Regions from separate parts of the Homo sapiens genome. Here all the other regions are linked to region 3. Evidence: promoter capture Hi-C in 16 types of primary human blood cells and fetal thymus (Javierre and others, 2016). All regions are on one chromosome and are shown on one strand. The core of a region is centred on a gene start or on the middle of the fragment in contact, and the rest is flanking DNA. Distances in the headings are between cores, read along the strand shown. Region 1 overlaps ZBTB20 (zinc finger and BTB domain containing 20). Region 2 overlaps ZBTB20 (zinc finger and BTB domain containing 20). Region 3 holds the start of GAP43 (growth associated protein 43).

Region 1 (2,700 bases), core at 113-2,612, 530 kb before region 3:
GTATTTTGCATTTCATGAATATTATATCATGCCTATATAGAAATAGGACATATTCTCTGATGACTTCTCCAAAATGTCATGTGTGTATTCATAGAAATGTCCAAAGGCATAGAGTGCAGCTTTGCCATTAGGAAGTCAGAAGTGAACTGCTTGCTATTGGCAAGGCAGTGGACACGGATCGCCTCTCCATCTAGTGGCCAGTGGAGAGGAGTGGAGCCATAGTAACCATGCTGCACTTCATTCCATTAAAAACAGCCCTTTTACCAAATCACCCATAGGCAATTAAGTCAGTTTGTCTGACAAATGACTATTTTTGGTTTATGGCATTCGTTCAATCATTAAACAGACTCAATAATACATTATGATATGTAGTTAAGCTAAGAAAAATCATCACAAAATTAAAGTGCCTGTGCTCTCTCAAGCCACATAAATGTCCGTTATTCTTCCTTTATTACCCACCCTAACTTTTCTCCATTTATTTGTGACTTTTAGATAGAAAATGCAAGCAAGATTATCTACATATATAGCTACTTAAAATCACAGTCTTTAAGATGAAAAAATATTTTAAAAAGCTTTCTCCTCATTTTACAGGAAGGAAACTGAGGGACAGAGAGATCATGATGTACTCAAAGTCACAAAGTCAGAACAAAAAACCAGACCTCCAGATTTAACCACTTTAAATCCTTTTTGATATTGATTAATACCTCCTGATTCCCCAGGAAATGCTTTTTGTATCACACCATAAAGTTTCTTTCAACATACCAGAAAAATAATTTCTAAAAATGTTTTTTATTCATATATTTTCAGACTAAGGTGATATAAGTGAAACTACTGTGTATAGGCCGTACCACATCTTCATATCCATAGGTATATTTTGAATGTGTTATAAGAACACAATTATTTTTATATTAAGGAATTACATTCATCCAACATTTAGAAAGCGAAAAAGCAAGTGGGGTAGGGAATAGGTGGATGTGTTGGTCAAAATTACTATACAAAAAATGGTTTCAGAAAGCCATTATGTGAAACAACCTGAATTCATTCAGACTGCTAGAAAAGTTCTTTTTGTTTTGTTTCATACAAATTATTTGACTTTGTTTTTAAAAAGGAAACACACGCACACTTATCCAGCTAATCACTTCATCTATTTTAATTCAGCATGTGATGCTGTTTGGGGGCATGTTTTGGGAATGTGTTGTTGGTAAAGCTTCTTATCAAAACAAATGAAATCTGTCCACCAACTATAAAAATCTGCTCACAACTCCGAACCCAAGAATTAAAGGGCAAAAGGTATGAAGGAAACCTGGCAGTGGATGTTCTAGAAATGTGAGATGTTTTGACTTTTTCTTCTATGATCTTCTTTGGTGGTACCACTGGAATCTGTCTTGGAGTGCAGAGGGAATTTATATAGATCTGCTTTAGAGAGATGCAAAAACTAATGCTGTACAGATAAGTCAAATGCTTTTTAACGGGAGTTAGGGAAGAAGTCTTTTTATTTCATTATACTTCTAAGTTTAGAAGCTTCAAAAGCACCAACCCCTCAGCTACCCTCAGCTTTACCCCTGTACCCTCAGCTTTATCCCTTCACATTATCTCAACTTCTCTCTACTTGTTTCTTAATCATCTCTAGTCGTCTCCCTTCTAGAAATGAGGTGAGGGGATAAAGATCACTGTTGATTTGGAGAACTAGAGAAAGTAAGGGCTAATATAAAAAGTAAGTTATTTTTGCCTTACCTAAAGCTAAGGTAATAGGTACAAGTAACCAAGAAGTGGAGAAATTAGTAAATATGGTCAGAACCAGAGTATATTTATTGGGCCAAGAAGAATTTTAATGTGTCCAGTATTTAAGAAGAAAAAAAAACAAAAAATTTATAAAGTCACCATTACAAAGTATTTGCCTAGTCTATTTAAATAATAAAAGAGAGGAACATTTTCTCACTGTTTAAATGTCTTGGTGCCTAAATAAGATATTTTTGTTTATTTAAAATGAAGCCACATAGTTTTCACATACACATATATATCAACTAGAAAAATTACATAGCCTGGAACATTTCTAGTTTTCTGCTAGTAATAGCTTTTTTTTTTTTTTAACTAAGTTTTAAGTTGCTACCTGAACAAACTGACAACATTAATTTTCTCTCAATTACATTCCATTTACAGGAAAGAAGTTCATACTATAAAAGGAATTGCAACAACAAATCACAATTTAATTACAACAGTAATTCACAGAAAATTTTTGAAAAGGTAAAAATGGCAAATATCTAAGCTAATTCAGTAAAAAACAAAAATGTAAAGCCTTCTAAAAATTAGAGAAAATTAAAATTTAAATAATTTTAAATGTTTCATTTTAAAAAGTTTAAATTAAGAATTTTCCCAATAACAAAAATAGTACTACTATGTATAAGATTCGTAATTATTACCATTTCTACATTTTTAGTTACAACCAATTGGGCATCTATCTTTTTGATATCCCATAACCCCAACCTCATACCATAATTTTATATTTGTTGAATGTAAATCCTTACATTAGTAATGTAATATAAAAACTTTCAAATAGATTGACCTTTTAAATGCATAATATGAACATTAAATTCATCATATCTCAAGACACAGAAGTATTCAGTGACAAAATTACTTCCAATATCAAGAAGGTAAACATATTATGCTGTAATTACCACATTTTCTATCAGAGTTTCAAAG
Region 2 (2,785 bases), core at 258-2,757, 570 kb before region 3:
CTCTCATATCTAAAGCTCCCTTCAAAAGAGTTTTTTTATGATAAAATATAAAATTCATTAGCTTAGAGTTATTTGGGGGCATGTATGACATTTGATAAATACATGATTAAGTGAATGAATTAAGCTCTCTTCATCTTAGAAATCAAAACTAGAATTATATTATCAAACACCTTTATGTTTGTTTATATAAAAATAATTTTAATACATTTTATAAATTATGATACTTTAAAGAATGTATGCATTCCTAGGGGTCCTCTGAATCTCTCAATGATTTATTAACTTTTATTTCACTTTCTATAATCCCTACCATAAATATTCAGTCACATACCATCTCACGCATACAGGCATAACTGGCATGTAAACTTAGGTAACTTTTCACCGAAACTTTTATGTGCAGATGACAGTTCTGATTAAAGGCTATGATCAATATGTCCTCTGATATGGACATATGGTTAAAATATCACTGTGTAGTTTTCCCTACAGAAAAGGGTAATAATAAAAGGATGGTAATAAGATGAAAGGTACTCTACAACTCTATTAGAAACAATAGAAAAACAAAGTCAATCCAAAATCATAGGAGGACAAAATTACAAACTATTGTTTTTAAAATAATGATCTATCATTTTTTAGCACAATCTTCAATTTCAGGTATAAGCTTCAATTCCTATACTCAGAAATTCCAAAACGCTGTTATTTAAATTATTAATGATTTAACGGAAATTTTATAATACTAAAACTTAAAGCTTAAGGTATCTTGGCTAAATTTTTTTGCTAGGTACATTCATTCAATAATTCATTCAGACATTTAGGTAATAATTAAATGACTATTAAAGTCCTACTATATTTTGGGTAGTATGTTAGTTCCTATGGTGACAATGAGAAGAAAAAAGCAGACACAATTCCGTTTTCATATTACTAATGCCTTGTGGGAACCAGACATTAATCAATAATCATAAAATTATTATATAACTATAAATAGATTTTGGAGAGAAAAATGAGATTCCATGATAGCATCTGAGGAAAAAAAATTGACATGCTTAAGAAGATTTCACTGAGAAAGTGATGTTTAAGCTGATATGATAGATGGGTAGGAGTTTAGAGACTAGCAAATTAAAGCTAATAGGGACCAGGATTAATATTAAGAGGTTCTTTTTTAAATGAATACATAGGTATTCATAGGTAGTAAGAGCTGTTGATTAGTAAATTGTTGGGACAGGAATTAACGTTGTTACAGTAATACCTTCAAAATAGTTTGTTTTCCTAAATTGGCGAGAAATCATTCTAGAAATGCTGGCCATAGGATCTTTGTGTTTGACAAACCCGTGTTTTGTAAGACAAATTTCAGCAAGTTCTTTTTCCAATTATCATAAATTTAGAATTATATTTTCTGTCTTCATCCAGTTTCACACTGCTCTAAAGAACTACCTCTGATTGGGTAGTTTATGAAGAAAAGAGGATTAATTGACTTAATAGTTCCACAGGCTGTACAGGAAGCATGCCTGGGGGGCCTCAGAAAACTTAAAGGTGAAGGGGAAGCAAGCATGGCTTACTATGGAGGAGCAGGAGAGAGAAAATGAAGAGGGAAGTGCTACACACTTTTAACCAACCAGATCTCGGTGAGAACTCACTCACTATCATGAGAACAGCAAGCGGGAAATTTGCACCCATGATCTGATCACCTCCCATCAAGTCCCTCCCCCAACATTGGGGATTAAAATACAACATGAGATTTGGGTGGGGACACAGAGCCCAACCATATCAGTGAAATCCTAATTGATGAGACTTTAGCCACAATTTAATGATATAATAAAACTTTCTAAAGATAAAAGTGTGGTTAGGCATGGTGGCTCATGCCTGTAATCCCAGCACTTTAGGAGGTGGAGGCGGGCAGATCACAAGGTCAGGAGATCCAGACAATCCTGGACAACATGGTGAAACCCTGTCTCTACTAAAAATACAAAAATTAGCTGGGCATGGTGGTGCATGCCTGTAATCCCAGCTACTCGGGAGGCTGAGGCAGGAGAATCGCTAGAACCAGGTAGTTGGAGGTTGCAGTGAGCCAAAATTGCACCGGTGCACTCCAACCTAGGTAATGGAGTGAGACGCTTTCTCATGGAAAAAAAAAAAGTGACTAGACCACAGTACTATCTTGTATACTAAAGAAATACAGAGTTAAAGAGATGAGATTATAATTATATTGCACTAATAAATGGAAATTCGTCATCTTTCCTCCTGCAAAGTTTAACTAAAAGACAAATATCTTGTTCAGGAAGAAGCTTGTCAAGTTTTCATTCCTATCACTGATTATCCTACAAACACACACACAGACACAAAAGTGAGCTAATTTAAGAAATCATAAATTTAAATTACTGAGAGTTTTGTTATAATGTTTGAGGTATATCTAATTTTCACTATAAACTGTAAATGCTATTATAGGAGACTCAGAAAATGCAAAAAGCTAGAAATTTCAGAAGATAAAATTATTCAGAATCCCATCACTGCAAAATGAGCACTGTAAAAATTTTCATGTTTGAATTGTTTTTAGTAATAATAATTTTCATTCTTTAATTGAATTTTTAATTAATTTCAAAAAACGTTTATAGCTAATCAAACTCTCTGGTCATTCAGTTTTTTGTACTCTTCAGTAAAGTCCACAGTAAAGGCTAATCTGAATGCTGACATCACTGCCTATAACTCTCTCTGTTGTGGTTTAGCCATTTTAGCTCCCCTTTCAAGAACAGTAATTCCCCCTGAACTAAATATTGTTAACCACAGATAAAGAAGT
Region 3 (2,773 bases), core at 11-2,510:
GCTATTATACACTCAGAGAGACTGTTGTGCTTTGCATGCGTTATATCATTTAGTCCTCAAAACATGTTGTCAAGATTGGCATTATTATCTCCATTTTAAAGATGAGAAAATTAGGTGCAAAGAGCTTCAGTAACACACTCAAACTCATTCAACAATAAATAACTAAAAATTGTGCTATACACACTTTAAGAGTCACATGTTCCTCCCCCAAAATTATGAAAGGCCATAGAAGGAATTCAAGAAGTAGGCTTCATGACTTATCGTTTCTTCTCATCTCAGATGAATTCACTTTAATCTCTCATGCCCAAATTGTAAAATATCATTTTGATCACCGTCAATATTACACAGACCTGTTTGAATGTGCTCAGCTTTTTCAGTAAAATTAGAAGAAACCACAATTTACAAACAGGTATATGTGCATTAAGGAAAAAACAAAAAACTACCATGTGATTTTAGATATGGATGCCAATTCTTAAACATTGTTTATTATTTCTGAGCTCAAGTGCTTAGAATGTTTAAAATGCAATATATTTATGTGGATTTTTTTCCAGGATATTGGAACATATATAAAATATGCTTGTGCATATCTAAGCTTTGTATTTATTTCAGGTTATATGTATACTGAGAAGAATATATAAACAGTGTATGATATTTACATGTTATTTCATTTTTTGAGGGAAATTAACCTCCACAATTATTAACTATGCATAAAATGTAATGGCAGATATGACTTATATTGTATAGGACTGACTACAATTCCTCTTTAGAAATAGCTGTTCTTTGCTTTTATAATACTAGGAAAAGAGGAAAAGAGTTCTTAAAGAAATACAAGGATTCCTCAAGCCCCTCTTCCCTAAAACATGCTCTATCATATCTCCTGGATTGACTGGAATATCCTTCTCTGCCCCCACCCCATCACCCTCTCAATGCAGTGGAAAAGTCGGTGGGTAATTGGGTCCAGATTGGAGGTGTTTAAATATTCATGAGGCTGGCAGGGGACTGGGAGGGGGCGACTGTCTAGAATGGGGGTAGGGGCTGGGGGAAGTGATTAGTCACTGAAGGCTAGAGAACAATTCCGAGAAAGAGACGGAGAGAGAGGGAAGAAAAAGACAGATAGATAGATATTGGGGGGAAGGAGAAAAAAGGAGAAGAGAGGGAAGAGAGGACAGCGGAGAGAGAGCACCAGAGAGAGAGGGAGAGAGAGAGAGAGCGCTAGAGAGAGGGAGCGAGCATGTGCGATGAGCAATAGCTGTGGACCTTACAGTTGCTGCTAACTGCCCTGGTGTGTGTGAGGGAGAGAGAGGGAGGGAGGGAGAGAGAGCGCGCTAGCGCGAGAGAGCGAGTGAGCAAGCGAGCAGAAAAGAGGTGGAGAGGGGGGGAATAAGAAAGAGAGAGAAGGAAAGGAGAGAAGGCAGGAAGAAGGCAAGGGACGAGACAACCATGCTGTGCTGTATGAGAAGAACCAAACAGGTAGAGCTAAAGATTTTTTACTTCTTGCTGTTGTGAAATAACCCGAGTACAGTATTTCCCCGTAAAGGCAAACAATTTTTTTACTGCTTCTGCTCTGGCCGTGGTGCTCGCGCTTCCTTAGCATATGGTAACTGATGGTTGCATCCCAGCTTTTATTCTTTTCTGTCTTTCATGCTCTGGTTTTGGAATGCTGCTACTAATTAGGGTGAGGGTAGAAAAAACATGCCTGTTTGGCTAGAAATAATTTTTTTTTTTCTTATTAGTGAATGCTCAGCATTTGAGGTCTCTGGTCTTGAGGGTGTGGACGTAGAAAGGGGTGTGGGGGAGATGATGTGGGCTCTACCTACAAGATGGGGAGGCATTTCTTTATATTATTTGCAAAAAAGCAGGGTTGAGGAAATAATATTCAGAACTGAGTATTGCCTCTCTGTCATACAATTTTCTCACATGTGCTGCGGAAGATGCCTTATTTCGTGCATGCATGAGCTTCGAAGGGGCGCAGGTATTTATGGAAAAACGTGCAGGTCTTATTTATTTAGTATTTATTTTTCAATGAATGAATGAAACTGTGATTTGATAGATTTTTTTTTTTTTTAAGAGAAGCTAAGACAACTGGGGCTGGGGGAGAAATTGGCCATGCAGAAGGAGAAAATCCCCTTCCTAAGATCAGCAGCCGATTGTGCACCAGCTGGTCGGAGGAGAGGGTGGACCACGCCCCTAGGAGCTCCGATGGGATGGGAAAGACAGCCGGGTATTACCTGTTGGAAACCAGGTCTTTTCTCTTATCCCCTTCCCTTGCTTCTTTCCTGGGATTGTCAGTGACCAGAGACAGGCTAACATCCTGGATAATAAGTATGGTGACTCATTTTCATCAGGAAGAGGGACACATCCAAGATTAGCAAGAATCAGAGCCCCTCCTTCCCTCCCCCACTGCCCAGGTTTTACAGCCATTTCCAATTGCTCGCTTATTTCTTGAAAGACATTTTAGAAACTTGATTGGGGTGAGAGTGGGAAGGAATGACGAGTGTGGTATTCCGCAGCAACCGACCATGCCATGGCAGTCTCCAAAAGAAGCTTTCAAACATTTGTTGGAATGCATTTGAGTGATTTTGGCAAAGGTTAAAGAGAAAAATGGGTGTGGGATACGGGTGAGTGTGTGCGTATGCTTGACTGTGGTGGGGGTGGGGGTGTGGTGGGGGCAATCTTGGTCAAAGAAGCCCTTCGCAGACTGATTGCCTTAGGGGTGGGGTGCAAGAGATGGAATTTGGGTATAATTTCCAGTGCAGGTATTGGAAATTGGGCA

The links. The method cuts DNA at HindIII sites, captures the fragments that hold promoters and counts their contacts. A CHiCAGO score of 5 or more calls a contact.
Region 1: a fragment that was not itself captured here is called in contact with the fragment with the promoter of GAP43 in region 3 in 1 of 17 cell types (total B cells); the score reaches 6.3 in total B cells.
Region 2: a contact is called between a fragment that was not itself captured here and the fragment with the promoter of GAP43 in region 3, in 1 of 17 cell types (total B cells). The highest score is 5.5, in total B cells.

Annotation. Positions count from the first base shown.
Region 1 is chr3:115,092,468-115,095,167 of GRCh38, forward strand. The region is part of intron 1 of ZBTB20 (zinc finger and BTB domain containing 20); the gene reads right to left. Among named protein-coding and RNA genes, the nearest start is that of ZBTB20-AS4, 6.6 kb to the right of the region's middle. The HindIII fragment of the contact is 314 bases long and covers 1,206-1,519 here.
Region 2 is chr3:115,050,345-115,053,129 of GRCh38, forward strand. The region is part of intron 2 of ZBTB20 (zinc finger and BTB domain containing 20); the gene reads right to left. Among named protein-coding and RNA genes, the nearest start is that of ZBTB20-AS4, 49 kb to the right of the region's middle. The HindIII fragment of the contact is 1,533 bases long and covers 742-2,274 here.
Region 3 is chr3:115,622,250-115,625,022 of GRCh38, forward strand. GAP43 (growth associated protein 43) reads left to right here and starts at 1,261. Exons shown (of 3, transcript NM_002045.4): 1 at 1,261-1,470. The coding sequence starts at 1,441. The HindIII fragment of the contact is 1,952 bases long and covers 591-2,542 here.